Linked DNA regions of Homo sapiens: region 1 is linked to region 2. Evidence: promoter capture Hi-C in 16 types of primary human blood cells and fetal thymus (Javierre and others, 2016). All regions are on one chromosome and are shown on one strand. Each heading gives the region's core, a stretch centred on a gene start or on the middle of the fragment in contact. The rest is flanking DNA. Distances are from core to core; before and after follow the strand shown. Region 1 has its middle 69 kb from the start of CHASERR. Region 2 holds the start of SEC11A (SEC11 homolog A, signal peptidase complex subunit).

What was found. The method cuts DNA at HindIII sites, captures the fragments that hold promoters and counts their contacts. A CHiCAGO score of 5 or more calls a contact.
Region 1: a contact is called between a fragment that was not itself captured here and the fragment with the promoter of SEC11A in region 2, in 1 of 17 cell types (neutrophils). The highest score is 6.3, in neutrophils.

Annotation. Positions count from the first base shown.
Region 1 is chr15:92,811,786-92,816,317 of GRCh38, forward strand. No RefSeq gene overlaps it. Among named protein-coding and RNA genes, the nearest start is that of CHASERR, 69 kb to the right of the region's middle. The HindIII fragment of the contact is 6,670 bases long and covers 1-4,532 here.
Region 2 is chr15:84,714,401-84,718,860 of GRCh38, forward strand. SEC11A (SEC11 homolog A, signal peptidase complex subunit) reads right to left here and starts at 1,739. Exons shown (of 6, transcript NM_014300.4): 1 at 1,625-1,739. The coding sequence starts at 1,675. RefSeq lists enhancers at 1,392-1,957, 1,413-1,482, 1,958-2,523, 2,153-2,272, 2,293-2,402 and 1 more. The HindIII fragment of the contact is 22,021 bases long and covers 1-4,460 here.

The sequences.
Region 1 (4,532 bases), core at 1,402-3,901, 8.1 Mb after region 2:
GCTGGGACTACAGGCACAATATGCTGTATGCAGCTCGTTTTTTGCTTCTGTAAATAATGCTGGCATGAACATTTTAATAGAAAAAGTTTTGTACAGATTTCTGTAAAATAAGATTTACAATGAATCTTTTAAGGTTTTTTGATACATATTTTAACTCTCCAAACCGAATTGTTAATTGTATTGCCTCCCCAACCTAGCTCATGTCCTAGCTCAACTTTAATTGCCCTCACTCTTCTAAATTGATATTGGTTTTTTAATGAAAATTGTAAATTGTATATTCTCTATGTATTTTTTTATATGCATGTGTGTCCAATAAATACCGGACATGGACATTAACTTCAAGTTAAATATTTAAAAGGACTCCTTCACCGTCAACCTGCTTAATACACGGAAACCTGTTTTTCTTTTTAACTAGTTCATTTCTATGTGGAGATGTGAGGCAAAGGAAACTAATTGCTAAAATTTTCTTTCTGATGTGCAGCAAGGATATAAACTTTGCCCTAAAATTATTTAAGTGTAAATGAACGTTTGGTTTTGTTGTTTGTTTGGTTGTTTGTTTTTGAGATGGAGTTTCACTCTTGTTGCCCAGGCTGGAGTACAATGGCGCTGTCTCGGCTTATTGCCACCTCCACCCCTCTGGGTTCAAGCGATTCTCCTGCCTCGGCACCCGGAGTACCTGGATTACAGGCGCGTGCCAACATGTCTGGCTTGTATTTTTAGTAGAGACATGGTTTTTCCACGTTGGCCAGGCTGCTCCCGAACTCCTGACCTCAGGTGATCCACCTGCCTCAGCTTGCCAAAGTGCTATGATTACAGGTTTGAGCCACAGTGCCCGGCCTTTTTTGTTTGTTTGTTTGTTTGTTTTCTGACATGGCGTCTCAATCTTATTGCCCAGGCTGGAGTGCAATGGCTCTGTCTCGGCTCACTGCAACCTCTGCCTCCAGGGTTCAAGTGATTCTCCTGCCTCAGCCTCCCGAGTAGCTGGAATTACAGATGTGTGCCACCATACCCGGCTAATTTTCGTAATTTTAGTGGAGACGGGGTTTCACCATGTTGGTCAGGCTGATCTCGAACTCCTGATCTCATGATCCACCCGCCTCAGCCTCCCGAAGTGCTGGGATTACAGGCGTGAGCCACCGCGCCCGGCCCACGTCAGGCTAATTTTTTTGTATTTTTTGGTAGCAACGGGGTTTCACCATGTTGGTCAGGCTGGTCTCAAACTCCCGACTGATCTCAAGGGATCTGCACACCTCAGCCTCCCAAAGTGCTGGGATTACAAGCGCGAGCCACCACGCCTGGCCACCTCCTATATTTTTAACCCTAGTTTCTCTTTAAATGAAATCCTTCTACTTACTATACTTGCAATAAAATACATTCCAGTAGAATGAAGAAAACTTTGTTAATATTAAAAGGATATGGGGCTGTAAGAACTATCATAGGCCAGGCACAGTGGCTCACGCCTGTAATCCTAGCACTTTAGGAGGCCGGGCAGGGTAGATCACTGGAGGTCAGGAGTTCGAGACCAGCCTGGCCAAGATGGCAAAACCCCATCTCTACTGAAAATACAAAAATTAGCTGGGCGTGGTGGCGGGCACCTGTAATCCCAGCTACTCGGGAGGCTGAGGCAGGAGAATCGCTTGAACCCTGGAGGCGGAGGTTGCAGTAAGCTGAGATCGTGCCATTGTACTCCAGTGTGGGCAACAAGAGTGAAACTCCATCTCAAAAAAAATAAAAACTACCATAGATGGCAGTCATTATTCTGTAATAGTCTTCCTTTTAGTGACAGTACCCTATGGCAGAGGTTGATCTCTTCGACTACGGTATTTGAGGTCAATTCAAAGTCTCCAAGTAAACCTTTGCAAAGTTACTAAGTAGTCTGATTCTACAGAACCACAATAAACGTGAGAATTTTTTTTTTACCTAACCAGCACTGTGCATCTGAGATTAAAATCTGTTACCAGAGATTCATGGTGATCCTTTCAAAGCAGCTCTAGATATTTTTGTTTGTTTTATCATTCGTATTTCATAGCTGATACCTAAAGCAGATAATGATGAATATTTTACATTTCAATTGTTTTAAGGAACACTTGACTTTGAACAGCTTGTGGAAGCTATAGCTCTTAGAAGCCTGTCTCCTTAAAGCTGAAATTTCATATCTGCTACTGATATGACTGAGGAAGAAGAGAGGGAGGAGAAGAAGAAAAAAAGTTCTTTTTAATCTCAAGGGCCTTTGAAAATATCCTTTTACTGAGGTACAGTTACTGCCTAGCAATGAAAGGAAAACGTCTTGTAAATTTGCCTCTTTCCTCAGTCCTTCCAGAAATGAAAGAGGCAATCTATAGGTTGTCTCATATCCTAGACTGTAGACCCCAGAGTCTTTGCTGCTAAATTGGCAAGTTCAATAGTCTTTTTTTTTTTTGAGACGGAGTCTTGTTCTGTTGCCCAGGCTAGAGGGCAGTGGCACTATCACGGCTCACTGCAACCTCAGCCTCCCAGATTCAAGCGATTCTCCTGTCTCAGCCTCCCAAGTAGCTGGGATTACAGGTGCCCACCACCGCGCCCGGATAATTTTTGTATTTTTAGTAGAGCTAGGGTTTCACCATCTTGGCCAGGCTGGTCTCAAACTCCTGACCTCGTGATCCACCCGCCTTGGCCTCCCAAAGTGCTGGGATTACAGGTGTGAGCCACCACGCATGGTCTTCAATAGTCTGTTATTCCAAAATTATACTGTACTTGCCACAGCCATTCCTTTGCTCTCTCCAAATCATTTAGAGAACACAGAATAGTAAAGAGGAATAAAACAAAGGCATGAATAATGGGAAAAAATTAGAAGCGAGTACATGATCATCTTAAAAACAATCCCAGAGAATGCAATGCTCTTTCCTTGGGCGATCAGTTCTGACCACACCCTTTTTTTTTTTTGAGACGGAGTCTCCCTCTTTCGCCCAGGCTGGAGTGTACAATCTCAGATCACTACAGCCTCCACTTCCCAGGGTTCAAGCAATTCTCCTGCCTCAGCCTCCATAGTAACTAGGACTACAGGTGCGTGCCACCACGCCTGGCTAATTTTTCTATTTTTTGGTAGAGACAGGGTTTCACCATGTTGGTCAGGCTGGTCTCAAACTCCTGACCTCAAGTGATCTGCCCACCTCGGCCTCCCAAAGTGCTGGGATTACAGGTGTGAGCCACCAACCCTGGCCTCCCCCTATATTTTTAACCCTGTTTTCTCATGGGCACATTCCAACAGGGTTAGGGCTCTAGGCCTATGTATCACTACTAGTCTCCCCCAAATTTCTCTTCCTCCCCCATATCAAATAGCCCTAAAGCCTTGCTCCTGGTTCTTCCAAGGCCCTGTGGAACTGTGTTTGAGAACTGGGACTTGGGCCGGGCGCAGAGGGTCAAGCCTGTAATCCCAGCACTTTGGGAGGTTGAGGCGGGCGGATCACGAGGCCAGGAGATCGAGACCATCCTGGCTAACATGGTGAAACCCCATCTATACTAAAACTATACAGAATTAGCCAGGAGTGGTGGCACATGCCTGTAGTCCCACCTACTCAGGAGACTGAAGCAGGAGAATCGCTTGAATCCGGGAGGTGGAAGTTGCAGTGAGCTGAGATCACGCCTCTGCACTCCAGCCTGGGCGACAGAGTGAGACTCCGTCTCAAAAAAAAAAAAAAAAAAAAAGAACTGGGACTTGGGAGTCAGAGGGAGGCAGAGTTGGAGTCCAGTTCTGTCCTTTCCAAACTGTGTAACATTGAGCAGTTAATATTTCTGAGCTTCAGTTTCCTACTTGTAAATTGCAAATATTTCTTTATTTGTTCCAAGAATTGGATAAATGCTGGACAGTATGTAGTACTTAGTAAAATGCCTGGCACAAATAATAAATTCTCAATAGACGGTGGTAATTATCAATCCTGCTTCCTTAATCCACTTTCTGCCCGCTGTCAATGCCTCCTTCTCCTTTGGCCAATTGCCTCCTAATTAGTCTCCACCATGCCCGGCTAATTTTTGTATTTTAAGTAGAGACGGGGTTTCGCCATGTTGGCCAGGCTGGTCTTGAACTCCTGACCTCAGGTGATCCGCCCACCTCGACCTCCCAAAGTGCTAGGATTACAGGCGTGAGCCACTGCGCCCAGCCTATATGCACTGATTTCTAAAATACATTGTTAAATGGGAAAAAATAGGCCGAGTGTGGGGGCTCATGCCTGTAATCCCAGCAGTTTGGGAGGCCAAGGCGGGAGGATCACCTGAGGTCAGGAGCTCGAAACCACCCTGACCAACATGGAGAAACCTGTCACTACTAAAAATACAAAATTAGCCGGGCATGGTGGCACATGCCTGTAATCCCAGCTACTCAGGAGGCTGAGGCAAGACAATCGCTTGAACCCGGGAGGCAGAGGTTGCAGTGAGCCGACACTGTGCCATTGCACTCCAGCCTGGGCAACAAGAGCGAAACTCCATCTCAAAGAAAAAAAAAAGGAGGTATGAAAAACTGAATACAAAATGCATCTATTTGTGTAAAAAAAAGAGAA
Region 2 (4,460 bases), core at 489-2,988:
TTCTGAGGGCTTTATATGAATTAACTCATTTAATCTTCATAGCGACCCTACGTTTGCACAACATAGTGAATGCAACTAATGTCAGTGAAGTATACACGTAAAAACGGTTGAAATGGAATATTTTATGTTGCATATCTTTTTACAACAATAAAAGTAAACATAGGCACAGACAGGTTAAGTAATCTGCTCAAAGTCACACAGCCAGTAAGTAGCAGAGCTACTTCAAACCTCTGAAATCTAGCTTTAGAGTCCATATTCTTAACTTCTATACTGTATTGCTTCTCACAAAGTCTCATTTTCTTCATGTTTAATAAGAACAACGTTACCTACCTTACAGGTGTATAAAGTGCTTCACACATGGCAAGAGCTCAAAAAAGTTATTGTTTTGCCTTAGTCCTTTTCTACACATTTAGGCTCCTTGAAGGCCGAGTCTTTCTTAACTATCTTTGCATTTCTCTCATTGTACCTAGCATAGAGTACAATAAATATCAGACTCAAAATAAATACTTTCCTCAGAGAAATATCTGTGGCATCTAGAAATCCAAATATGGATTAAAAAAAGACAACACTATACAAGTAAAAATTTGAAGTGTTGTCATAAAGACATAAAGTAACGTTTGCGCAATTTTTATAGAATGCTCAATTCTGACTGACAGAATTGACACTGAGCTAGCTAAGGCCTGAAGGGGAGTAAGGAAAGGTTGTGTATCTACTTCCCTAAGTGGCAGTTATAAGTACAAAAAATGCAAGTCCAAGGAAAAAAAATCCTTAATGGTGACATCAGGATAATCATAACAGTAAAATACTGTTTAAAACAAAAAAAAAGTCCGATGCAGCAAAACTAGGCTCTACAGACACACTAGGCGCAAAAGATAAAACAGAACAACCTTTTCTAAGGACTAAATAATTACAACAATATTCTCAGTACTATTTGGCATACGATCTAGAAGATCAAAGTAAAGTGTAAGGACAAAATCAGGAGACCTACATTTCCAGATCCCCGTGGCACTGATATTGGACTGTAAAACCATAGATTCCGAGGGCTGCCGCCTTAGTGCTAAGCGGACGCAAGGGCAAGTAGTGTAACTGTTCCAACTCGGAGCCCAGAGTGGTCCAAGTCAAAGTCGGTGCAGCCCGCTACGGTTCAGCTCTACTAAAGGGTTGCAAGGAGCTGAAAGCAGCAAAACGGTTTTTGTGGGGCCTCCAATCGCCTTCCTGAGCGCCCCAGAAACCGGCTAAACCTCGTCTCTCCCGAAACCACCTGGAGTCGCTCCGACTGGAGAAATCAAGAGTCCGCCGCCTTAAAATGACTAAAACAATAAGCAACCCCAACTCCCACTTCAAGCGCGTACGGTTTCCATTTGCTCCCCTGCCTCAGTGGGAGGAATGGAACGTGAAGACACCGCTTCCCGCCCCGCCCCCGGTAGGCCCTGAATCAGTTCGGGGTTAAAAATAATGAGGCGGACAAGGCGGCCTCTGGCCACAGTCTCCAAAGAAAGCGAATGACCCGGGTATCAGACCAGCTCAGACCCTCACACCAGAACCCTGGGGTCCGCCGGGCCCCGCAGCAGCAGCCTCGAAGGGACAAGAAGAGCCAGGAGAAAAAGAGGACGGACAAGCTCACCTGCCGCTTGTTCATCCGCCGCACATCGTCCAAAAAGTCTAGAGACAGCATGGCGGGGACGGCGAGCAGGACACCGGCAGGGGAAAGGGCGCGATGACCAGCGGGCGGAACTACTGGAGCTCGGGTCGGGCTCACACTGGACAGGACCCCGCAGTGCTTGCACTTCCGCTTCCGGGGCGGGAGCTGGCACGGTCGGGCACGGTCCCCGCCCCCCGCGCCCCTTCGCTGCGGAGAGCTGACAGAGAGACTCACGACCTTGCTAGTCCAGTCTCAGGGCTTGGCCTCGCCGTGGGAGGGTTCTCACGCTCTGGCTCTCGCCTGCCAAAAACCGACTGGACGCCACTTCCCGCGCTCGGCCCCGCGGCCCTTCACCGAGGCGGCGACCCAGGCTTAGTTGGGGAGGCTGCTCTGCCACCTTCGGAAGGCGGGCCTCTGTGCCCGCCCGGCCAATCGCGAGCAACCTCTCCGGTGTGGGCGGGTAGAAGCGGTTCCGCGTCCCGGCTTGGGTATGGGTGTGGCAGTGGATGTGTCGTCTGACCGTAGGTTCTCTGGTCGAGCAAGTCTCCTGCGCTATGGGAAGCTGAGGAGGTGCTTTCTTTCTTTCTGTCTCTGTCTCTCTTTCTTTACGTCTCTGTCTCTGTTGAGGTGCTTGCTTGCTTGCTTGCTTACTTTCTGTCTGTCTGTCTCTTTCTCTTTTTCTTTCTCTTTCTCTCTTTCCTTTCTTTCTCACTGTGTCGCCCAGGCTGGAGTGCAGTGGCGCAATCTCAGCTCACTGCAACCTCCGCCTCGCGGGTTCAGGCGATTCTCCTGCCTCAGGCTCCCAAGTAGCTGGGACTACAGGCGCGCGCCACCAAACCTGGCTAATTTTTGTATTTTTAGTAGAGACAGGGTTTCACTATGTTGGCCAGGCTGGTCTCGAACTCTTGAGCTCAGGTGATCCGCCCGCCTTGGCGTCCCAAAGTGCTGGGATTACAGTCGTGAGCCACCGCGCCCGGCCATCGAGGTGCTTTCAATAAGTGCTTTTCGCGTAAGGTTGGACCGTGTGAGAGACCTTCCGAGCACTGCCTGAGCCTGCCAGGAGTTTACAGTCCAATTGGAGAGAAAACAGCCCGGGAGAATTAGAAAACATCCAAATGGTGCAACAGCGTGATGAGACCACCAGTGGTGTGGGTCGTTAGGAAGTGGCTTCCTTTCTGACCTTGACTTTGCTGACAGGATTTGACATGGTCTCCTTGAATTCTACCTCCTGGTTTTCTTAACTTGGACACCTTGAAGTGACTATCTTTTCGCTACCTTTTGCTTTGACTGGCCAAAGCTCCTAATACGCACTTCAGTCAACAAAGACTAAAGCTGGATTACTTGGTATCATTTCTCTCTCTTTTTTTTTTTTTTTTTTTTTTTTCAAAATAATCCTTCTCTCCCATTAGGGAAAGATGAATGAAGGATATACTGGAACTCTTTGTAGTATCCTCGAAATTCTTTAAATGGAAAGTCATTCCAAAATAAAAACTTGAATTTATTGGAGGATGGCTGTAATAAAAAAGACAAATAATAATAAGTTTAGGGGAAGATGTGAAGAAATTGGAACCCTCATATACTGCTGGTGGGAATGTAAAATGGTGCAGCCACTTTGGGAAATAGCTGCAGTTGCTCAAAAGGTTAAAGATGTGCCGTCTGCAGTGGCTCATGCCTGTAATCCCAGCACTTTGGGAGGCTGAGGCAGGCAGATCACCTGAGGTCAGGAGTTCCAGACTAGCCTGGCCAACATGGTGAAAACCCGTCTTTACTAAAGATACAAAAATTAGGCGGGTGTGGTGGTGGGCACCTGTAATCTCAGCTACTGGGGAGGCTGAGGCAGGAGAATCGCTTGAACCCAGGAGGCAGAGTTTGCGGTGAGCCGAGATCGTGCCACTGCACTCCAACCTGGGCGACAAAGTGAGACCCTATCTCAAAACACACAAACAAAAAAAGGTTAAAGATGGAATCACCATATTAACCAGCAATTCCACTGCTAGGTATATACCCAAGAAAATTGAAAACGTTTGTCCACACAAAAACTTGTACATGAATGTTCACAGCAGCATTATTCATAATAGCTAAAAAGTGGAAATAACTGAAATGTTTATCAACTAATGAAGGGATAAATAAATGTGGTATATTGGAATAATGTACTAATAATTCCGCTGGTACAATGGAATATTAATCTGGCAACAAAAGGAAATACTACAACATGAATGACCCTTGAAACAGATTTAGTGAAAGGATCCAGTCACAAAAGACAAAGCATTGCATGATTCCATTTAGGTGAAATATCTAGAATAGACAAATCCACAGAGATGGAAATCAGTGGTTGCCTAGGGCTGGGAGAGTTGGGGAAAATGGGGAGTGGCTGCTAATGGGTATGGAGTTTCTTTTAGGGGATGCTAGTTCTACAACTATGTGAATATACTCAAAACCATTAAATTGTACACTTTACACTGGTGAATTGTATGGTATGTGTATTATATCACAATAAAGCTATTATGAGAAAGAAAAAGAAACCACTGGTGTCTGGCTCACTGTTAAATTCCTAGTGGTGAACACATAGCCTAGCACATGTTATACCCAATAAATACTTGTTGAATTTAAAAGTGTGTGTGTGTGTGTGTGTGTATTTTTGTCACCTCCAAAAACTGCTGCCTCTAGGCACCCCACACTTATTGAGTTGAAAAAAAATTCCTAATTTATCCAATTTAGGAAGACTTGTGGAAGAAAATACATGTGAACTCCATGAGGACAGGGACATTGTCTTGTCCACCCCTTTATCTCCAGCTTCCATAAGAGTACCAGACATGTA